Linked DNA regions of Homo sapiens: region 2 is linked to region 1. Evidence: promoter capture Hi-C in 16 types of primary human blood cells and fetal thymus (Javierre and others, 2016). All regions are on one chromosome and are shown on one strand. The core of a region is centred on a gene start or on the middle of the fragment in contact, and the rest is flanking DNA. Distances in the headings are between cores, read along the strand shown. Region 1 holds the start of RPL37A (ribosomal protein L37a). Region 2 holds the start of RNF25 (ring finger protein 25).

Region 1 (3,716 bases), core at 1,006-3,505:
TGGGAGGTGGGGAGGTGGTTCTCCATGTGGGGACTGTGGCTTACCTAAAGTCAAACCACAAGGTAGTTACAGATCCTGGCCCAGACTGAGTGCCAGGGACCTGATTTTAATTCAACTATGTTTTCTGATGTGCTTTTTCAGTGCACTAAATATTATGATTTGGCGTAGTACAAGCTAGCAATTAGGAGAACTAACTTTGGGATCAGACAGACCAGATTTGAGTTCTAATTGCTGTGTGACATTGAGCAAGTTTCTTAACTTCCCTGAGATGAGTTTCTTTTTTCTTTCTTTTTTTGTTTTTGTTTTGAGAAAGGATCTCACTCTGTTGTCCAGGTTGGAGTGAAATGGTGTGATCATAGCTCACTGTAACCTCTGAACTCCTGGGCTCAAGCAATCCTCACGTTTCAGCCTTTTGAGCAGCTAGAACCACAGATGTGTGTCACCATACCTGGCCTATTATTTTTTTGTGTGTGTGGAGATGGGGTCTCGCTATATTGTCCAGGCTGCCTAGAACTCCTGGTCTCAAAGAATCTTTTCCAAGAGAGACTCTGTCTCAAAAAAAAAAAAAAAAAAAAAAAAAAAAGAAAAAGAAAAAAGAAAGAAAAGTATATAATAACTTGTCAGAGGTCCCACAGCTGGTAAATAGCAGAGTTCTGTTTTGAACCCATACTGAATCCAGAGCCTCTAAGTTCCTAATCATTACATGAGACTTCCTCTCTTTTTCTTAGTAATGAAGATAATAATCATTCCTATCATAAAGGATAATGGAAAATTAAATGAGAACATCCACATAAAATACTCAGTGCCTACCATGTGTTACCCTCCAACAATTGTAACCATATGAAGTACATAGCTGTTTGCAAGTTGCTTTGATTTGATTTGATTCATATATATTTTTTGAGACAGAGTCTCACTCTGTTGTCCAGGCTGGACTGCAGTGGCGTGATGACAGCTTACTGCAGCCTCAACCTCCCAGGCTCAAATGATCTTCCCACCTCAGCCCAGGTATGCAAGTTGACTTTAATACAATTGTGAGGAAAAGTGAACAGGTGCAAAATTATTTGAGACAGTTAATATTAAGCTTTGGGAACGGAAGCTACTTGTTACCGGACTTCTGATTGGAATCAGGGCCACACAATGCCTTTCAGCTCCCATGGTCTTTCTTGGCCCTCTAATCATGGATTCTCTCTTACACTCTTATTCCAGTAGTTTTCTGAGCTTCTTATTCTCTGGATTAGCCATCCCCTGAAAAAAGGCAACCAAACTTCCTAGTGTGTGTGTTCTACGTGAAGAAAGAAGATCATGTGTCTAGTTCCAGAACACACCCTCCCCACCCCCGGCCTCAACCAGAAATCCAATTCTTCCCTGCTGACCCCTTTGAGAGACCTGGAGGGACAGAGAATTGACGGTGGGTAAAGGGTAAGATGTTGGAGTTTAAGGGTTCAGGCCTGGACCAGGAAGCTGTCTTAACAGCCTAGTGTGGGGCCATGGAAGTGAGTTCTGAAATGAAGTGGAAGGCAGGCCATCCGCACTGAGATGCAGCAGCTGGAACACAAAACTCCAAGGTGACTGTTAACTTTTCCCCAGCCTTCCAATCTCAGACTTTCCTCAGGAAACACCAGGCTCTTCTGAATTAGTCGCGAGCAGAACCATCGTCCTTTCCTTCAGAACTCTGACCAGTTTGAAACTGTCTAACTTCTTAATGTGGCTATATGATCGTTTGCAGCTGGCCTGCAACTTGTTCTGGGAATGGAACCTTGGATTTTAGTCACCACTGTCGCTAGCATCCTGCACAGTCAGCCACTTTTAGAGAGCATAATGCAGAGGGGGAAATAAATGAGATTTGGAATAGAGACGGGGTTTCACCCTGCTGGCCAGGCTGGTCTCGAACTCCTGACCCACCCCGCCTCCCAAAGTGTTAGAATCACAAGCGTGAGCCACCGCGCCCGGCCCCACAAATGTAAGATTTATGCACTTCTCCAAGCCAAGTGCTGTGCATCGAATGGAGGAACTCGTACCTTTGCAGGATTTTGTGATATATGTGAAATAATCCGGACATGCTTCTGCTATGGTTGTTTGTCGCCATAGTTTGCGAATCTGGGTAAACCTGGATGAGAGAGACGCCTTACAATTGCAAACATTTCTCAGGAGGCCGCCTGAAAACGCCCAAACCATAGAGCTCAGTTCCTAGCTAGGCCTCTACCAGCCACTTCCGCTCGTCCGCCTAATACCGCGCCTGCGCACCGCGTCTCTTCCTTTCTGGGCTCGGACCTAGGTCGCGGCGACATGGTGAGTGTGGGTCTCTGTGCGGCCTAGAACTCTATCTGCCTGCATCTGTCCTTGTTTTCTTCTCCCGCACCCATCTCCTCTCCTGCCTTACCCCGTGTTCTCTCCTGTCTCCATGCCTTTGCAGGAGACACCATTGTCGGAAGCTCCCCAAGGCGGAGGGGCGGGGGCGCCTTGGCTGGGCCTGGCGCGCTCCAGCCGGGTTAACGCCGGGCCTTCGGAGCGCGCGGCCAGCCCTGGGCACTGGTTTCGTTGGGTTGAATTTAGGGAAAACTAGGTCATATGTAATTCACATGTCGGTCACACGTCAGTGAGGTGGAGGAACGGTGTGTGGAGGCTCCAGGGCCTGCCTGGGTTCCAGGTCTATCACTGGTTTCTCCCTTCACTCTAAACAGGCCAAACGTACCAAGAAAGTCGGGATCGTCGGTAAATACGGGACCCGCTATGGGGCCTCCCTCCGGAAAATGGTGAAGAAAATTGAAATCAGCCAGCACGCCAAGTACACTTGCTCTTTCTGTGGCAAAGTAAGTAAGGCAAAGTCTCTGGTGAGAGGAGAGGGAGGGCAGGTTTCTTACCCAAGTGAGGCCTGACTTCAAGGTATTTTATAAGCCGTGTGCTGGTGGGCAGTTGGAATTACTCATACCGTTGATTATGAGTTTTAAGATAAAAGTGTTGATGGTAACTTCAGATTTTGTGAGACGTTTTTCATTTAAAGAAAACCGCTTAAACGTTAATGGGTAAAATAATCATTTGACAGAGTGCCCCCAGCCTAAGCCAAACCTGCTTTGTGGGAAATGATTCCATCAGTTTTGTCTACTGATGTTTCTGCACCAACTCCCAAGATGTCTGTGCATCTAATACCATTCTACTTGTTCTGCGAGGGATTTTTGTTTGATAAAGGTTTGAACGTTTATGTGCAAAATACTGCATTACAGCAATCCCTGTTTTGTTTTTGAGGGAGAAAGGGAGGCTTTCACATCCCTGACAATAAGGTGAATCCAAATTTAGACTTCTGGATGCTTGTAAGAGAAAATACTTACTTGGTTCATAGTGAAAATTGGTTCTCTTTTATAGACCAAGATGAAGAGACGAGCTGTGGGGATCTGGCACTGTGGTTCCTGCATGAAGACAGTGGCTGGCGGTGCCTGGACGTACAAGTGAGTCTAGTTCCTTGTGGTATTTGGAAGTGTGTGGACCACATAGGCCCAAATTCCAGGTTGCTGCTGGATGGGCTAGTTTTAACACTTTCTCAGGACTGAGAGAATAAGGATGCCTTTGTATTTTCAGGATTCTTCCGTGGTGGTTTATTTTCAGTTATTGAAAGAGTAAACACAAAACTACCAAAATAGAAGTCGGAAATCTAATTCACAGACTACTTTAGAATTTGATGGTCACTGGGCACATTGTTGTGAACATTGTCATGATACTGT
Region 2 (3,892 bases), core at 527-3,026, 2.2 Mb after region 1:
AAGGCATGGAAATCAGAATTTTAGGCATCATTTCTGCCAACAGATGAAGAAGTGGATTCTAGAGAAGTAAAATGACTAACCAAGGCTTAACATAGGTAGAACTAGGCCCAGAGCCAGGTTTCCTGACTCCCTGTTTAAGTTTCATTCCCCTTAGTGGCTGAATCTCTGGTCTAGAGATATGGCACTCATTCATTAGCATTAACGTTACCAATATTACTCCAACCTTTCCCTACGTCACTGTCCAGTGTGGATCCCAGTGCCTTGGCTACTGTCTACATACAGTTTTAACACCAGTCACCCTAAGCCTTCTTAAAGGAGATAGCAACCTCAACACAACATATTTAGGGTGGTATAAAGGCTGTGTTGTAATGGAAGAGCCAGCAGCCTCGGAGTTAGTTAACAGGTACCAATCACTTACAAGCTATGCAATCTGGGACGTGACCTCTCTGTAAGCTTAAGTTATCCTGTCTGTCACATATAGATAATAACACCTACTCTCTAGGGTTATTGTGAGGATAAAAGGTGATTTGTTTACATAAAGTACCTAATAGTATCTGGGCTATCGTAGCTAGTCTACGTCCTCTTTTTTTCCTGTCTGTATATAACCTTCTCCCTTAGAAGGAAAGAGGGAAGGAAGGAGGTAATAGAGTACTCTGGATGTATTTATGACCTGGCTGTCTGGTTGATCTAGATCAGCCTGTTGAGGTTAGGATCCATGGTTCTGATGTAAATCAAGGGACACACATACTTAAGCATAGAAACAGCAGTTGTAATGAAATTGAAGCTGAGTGATCAGTTTGTGTCTACAGCTCTACCAAGTGATACATGGAAAAATGCACACTTTGCTTTCTCACACTGCTCCCTCTTCATTCTAAGAGTAAGGCTGCCCCAGCACGACCTATGTCAGTGTTGTTAAGTCTTAGGCAGAAACTTCAAAATATAAAATATAAAGCTTCACACCTCACAGATAACAGTGTAGTTCTGGCTGACATGGGAGTGGGAGTCTCACAGTACTACAGGCTGCTGCACTCATTGTTGCTGTCTCCATGGCTCAAGGTGTCTCCCCTGAATCTTAAAAGTTCCCCTGAACAGGTAAACTGTAAGTTATCCCAGCGCTTTGGGAGGCTGAGGTGGGAGGATCACTTGAGGCCAGGAGTTCGAGACCAGCCTGGGCAACAAAGCGAGACACTATCTCTACAAAAAATAAAAAATTAACTGGACACGGTGGTCCCAGCTACTTGGGAGACTGAGGCAGAAGAATCACGGGAGCCCAGGAGGTCGAGGCTGTAGTGAGCCATGATCTTGCCACTGTACTCCAGCCTGGGTGACAAAGTAAGACTCTGTCTCTTAAAAAAAAAAAAAAAAAAGAAGTTTCCCTGAACACTTTGAAAACCAGTAGTCTAGATACTCTTAATAACGGCCAGTACTAGCTGGGCTCCCTGAACCAATGTAACATTGAGGTGTAGCCTCAGTCAAGTGGCCCTTCAATACTTCGCCCACCCTAGTTATATGGGTCCTGGATGGGATGGTGGTAAGGTGGTGACAACAAAATGGGGGAGGGGGGCCGGGCGCGGTGGCTCAGGCCTGTAATCCCAGCACTTTGGGAGGCTGAGGCGGGTGGATCATGAAGTCAGGAGATAGAGACCATCCTGGCTAACAGGGTGAAACCCCGTCTCTACTAAAAATCACAAAAAATTAGCTGGGTGTGGTGGCGGGCGCCTGTAGTCCCAGCTACTCGGGAGGCTGAGGCAGGAGAATGGCATGAACCCGGGAGGCGGAGCTTGCAGTGAACCGAGATTGCGCCACTGCACTCCAGCCTGGGCGACAGAGCAAGACTCCGTCTCAAAAAAAAAAAAAAAAAAAAAAAAAATTGGGGGAGTGGGGACTGAAGAATGTCCTAGTACAAAGAATCTAAGGTGTGGAGTCAGACAGATATGGATTTCTATTCATAATTTTCTATCTTTTGGCAAATCACTTTACTTCTTTGGGACTCATCTAGTCTTCCCAGGTGCCTGCACCTCAGTTATTAATGAAAAGGAGGCCGGGTGTGGTGGCTCACGCCTGTAATTCCAGCACCTTGGGAGGCTGAGGTGGGAGGATCACTTGAACCCAGGGGTTCAAGACCAGTCTGGCCAACATGGCAAAACTCCGTCTCTACAAAAAATACAAAAATTAGCCAGGCATGGTGGCACACACCTGTAGTCTCAGCTACTCGGAAGGCTGAGGCAGAAGGATCACCTGAGCCTGGGGAGGTCGAGGCTGCAGTGAGCCGTAATCGCACCACCGCACTCCAGCGTGGGCGAGAGTGAGACTCTGTCTCAAAAAACAAAACAAAACAAAACAAAAAACAGACTTAAGTATATTACAAATCCGTCGTGATCCTCTCAACTATTCTGAGGTAAATGCCACACCCACTTTTTTTTTTTACAGCTGAGGACACTGACTCACAGAAGCTAGATGGCCTGTTCAGCATCACACAGCTAATAAAATGTGGAGTTAACCCACATTGATCCTACTTCCAAATCCCAGAGTCCTTCCATGTTCTAGTCTTTGGTTAAGAATGCTTGAGAGAAGGACTAGAGGGACTTTATATGAAGTGTAAAGCTTTATTCATACAATAGTCCTCACTAGTGCTGTGTGAGAGAGAGAAGGCTGAGGAAAGCGTCGGCGGAAAAAGGCTGATCCAAGGGGAAAGGGGGCCGGAACTGGAGGGCACTGGTTCTGAGAGGAGAAAGGGAGATGGGGAGGTCTGATGGGCAGGCATCCCCCAAAGCCCCTGAGAAAATTCATTTGAGGAGGAGAGAAAGGGATGGCGTGAAGCTGGAGGAAAAGGGATCGAACCGGATGCGGCGAGGCCTGAACTGGCCTGGCGGGCGCCGACCCGTTCTCCTCTCACTCAGATCAGCGCCCCTCCACCCTCCCGTTCCCCAGTCCAGCTTTCCCAGAGATGTCAGCATCTCTGCCATCCCTCATCCCTCGCTCCACCCCACACGCCCGCCGTACGGACCGTCTGCGACAGCTGCTAGGCCTCTGGACTAGATCCAGGCTGTCAGCCAAAGCCCATGCCCCCAAAGTTACCAGTCCTCCTCCCCTGCAGCTGCAGACGCAGACGCCGCCATATCTTCACCGGCCCGCAGCCGGAACCGGAAATGCCCTTAGGGAAGTCGGAGGCGGAAAACTAAGAGGGGTGGGCAGCTAGCGTCGTTTCTAGGCAACCGCAGACTCCGGGTCCTTAGCCGGGCCTGATGGCCCTGAGGCAGTTCGGATGTGTCCCAGGAAGTGCCCATGTGTGGTCCGCCGTCCATTCCACACCTCTGAGCGCCTTTGTCCTCTGAACTTCTCACCAGTTCTAGCGAGTAAAATTGTAAGAAAGGGAGCCGAAAGAGACCGGAGGGAGAGGCGGGTGGAGAAGAATTATAAGTCAGGCAACGTATGCAGGCAGCCAGAAGAGATGGGGCTAAACGCCAGGGAATCCGTCCCTTGGCCTGAGGAGCTTGGAGCTCCTAGGCTGGGGGTGAGAGAGGGGCTCTGGCCTGCGAAGCGCACGGGCCAGGGGGTCTGAGAGCGGGTGCTGAGGAGTCTGGGAGTGGCAGGAACTTGGGGGAGACTCAAAGGAGCAGGGTTGGTTGGGCGAGGCTAGGTTGAAAGAGTAGGGTCGAGTGAGCCAGGCTGGGTGAGGGAGAAGGGGAACCAGGTGTTAGTTGGGCATGGGGCCGGGTTGGGGACAGGAGGATGAAAGTGGGGAGGAACTACAAAGAGAAGCTCTGTTTGTTCCAAGAGCGCATCATCTTTGCATGCATTCCACCCTCCCATGTTTTTTGAGGCTTTATTGTGAAAAAGAGGAAAAGGCAAGGTGGCTAACATTTTTCCTTTCCCGTGCCCCAACTAGGCG

What was found. The method cuts DNA at HindIII sites, captures the fragments that hold promoters and counts their contacts. A CHiCAGO score of 5 or more calls a contact.
Region 2: a contact is called between a fragment that was not itself captured here and the fragment with the promoter of RPL37A in region 1, in 1 of 17 cell types (total B cells). The highest score is 5.3, in total B cells.

The regions. Positions count from the first base shown.
Region 1 is chr2:216,496,589-216,500,304 of GRCh38, forward strand. It overlaps RPL37A (ribosomal protein L37a), which reads left to right and starts at 2,256. Exons shown (of 4, transcript NM_000998.5): 1 at 2,256-2,289; 2 at 2,682-2,810; 3 at 3,361-3,443. The coding sequence starts at 2,287. RPL37A-DT (RPL37A divergent transcript) reads right to left here and starts at 2,164. Exons shown (of 4, transcript NR_183317.1): 1 at 2,019-2,164. RefSeq lists enhancers at 1,673-1,762, 1,943-2,332. The HindIII fragment of the contact is 3,327 bases long and covers 1,080-3,716 here.
Region 2 is chr2:218,668,852-218,672,743 of GRCh38, forward strand. It overlaps RNF25 (ring finger protein 25), which reads right to left and starts at 3,151. Exons shown (of 10, transcript NM_022453.3): 1 at 3,079-3,151. The coding sequence starts at 3,119. It overlaps STK36 (serine/threonine kinase 36), which reads left to right and starts at 3,235. Exons shown (of 27, transcript NM_015690.5): 1 at 3,235-3,364; 2 at 3,890-3,892. RefSeq lists an enhancer at 3,056-3,155. The HindIII fragment of the contact is 1,652 bases long and covers 951-2,602 here.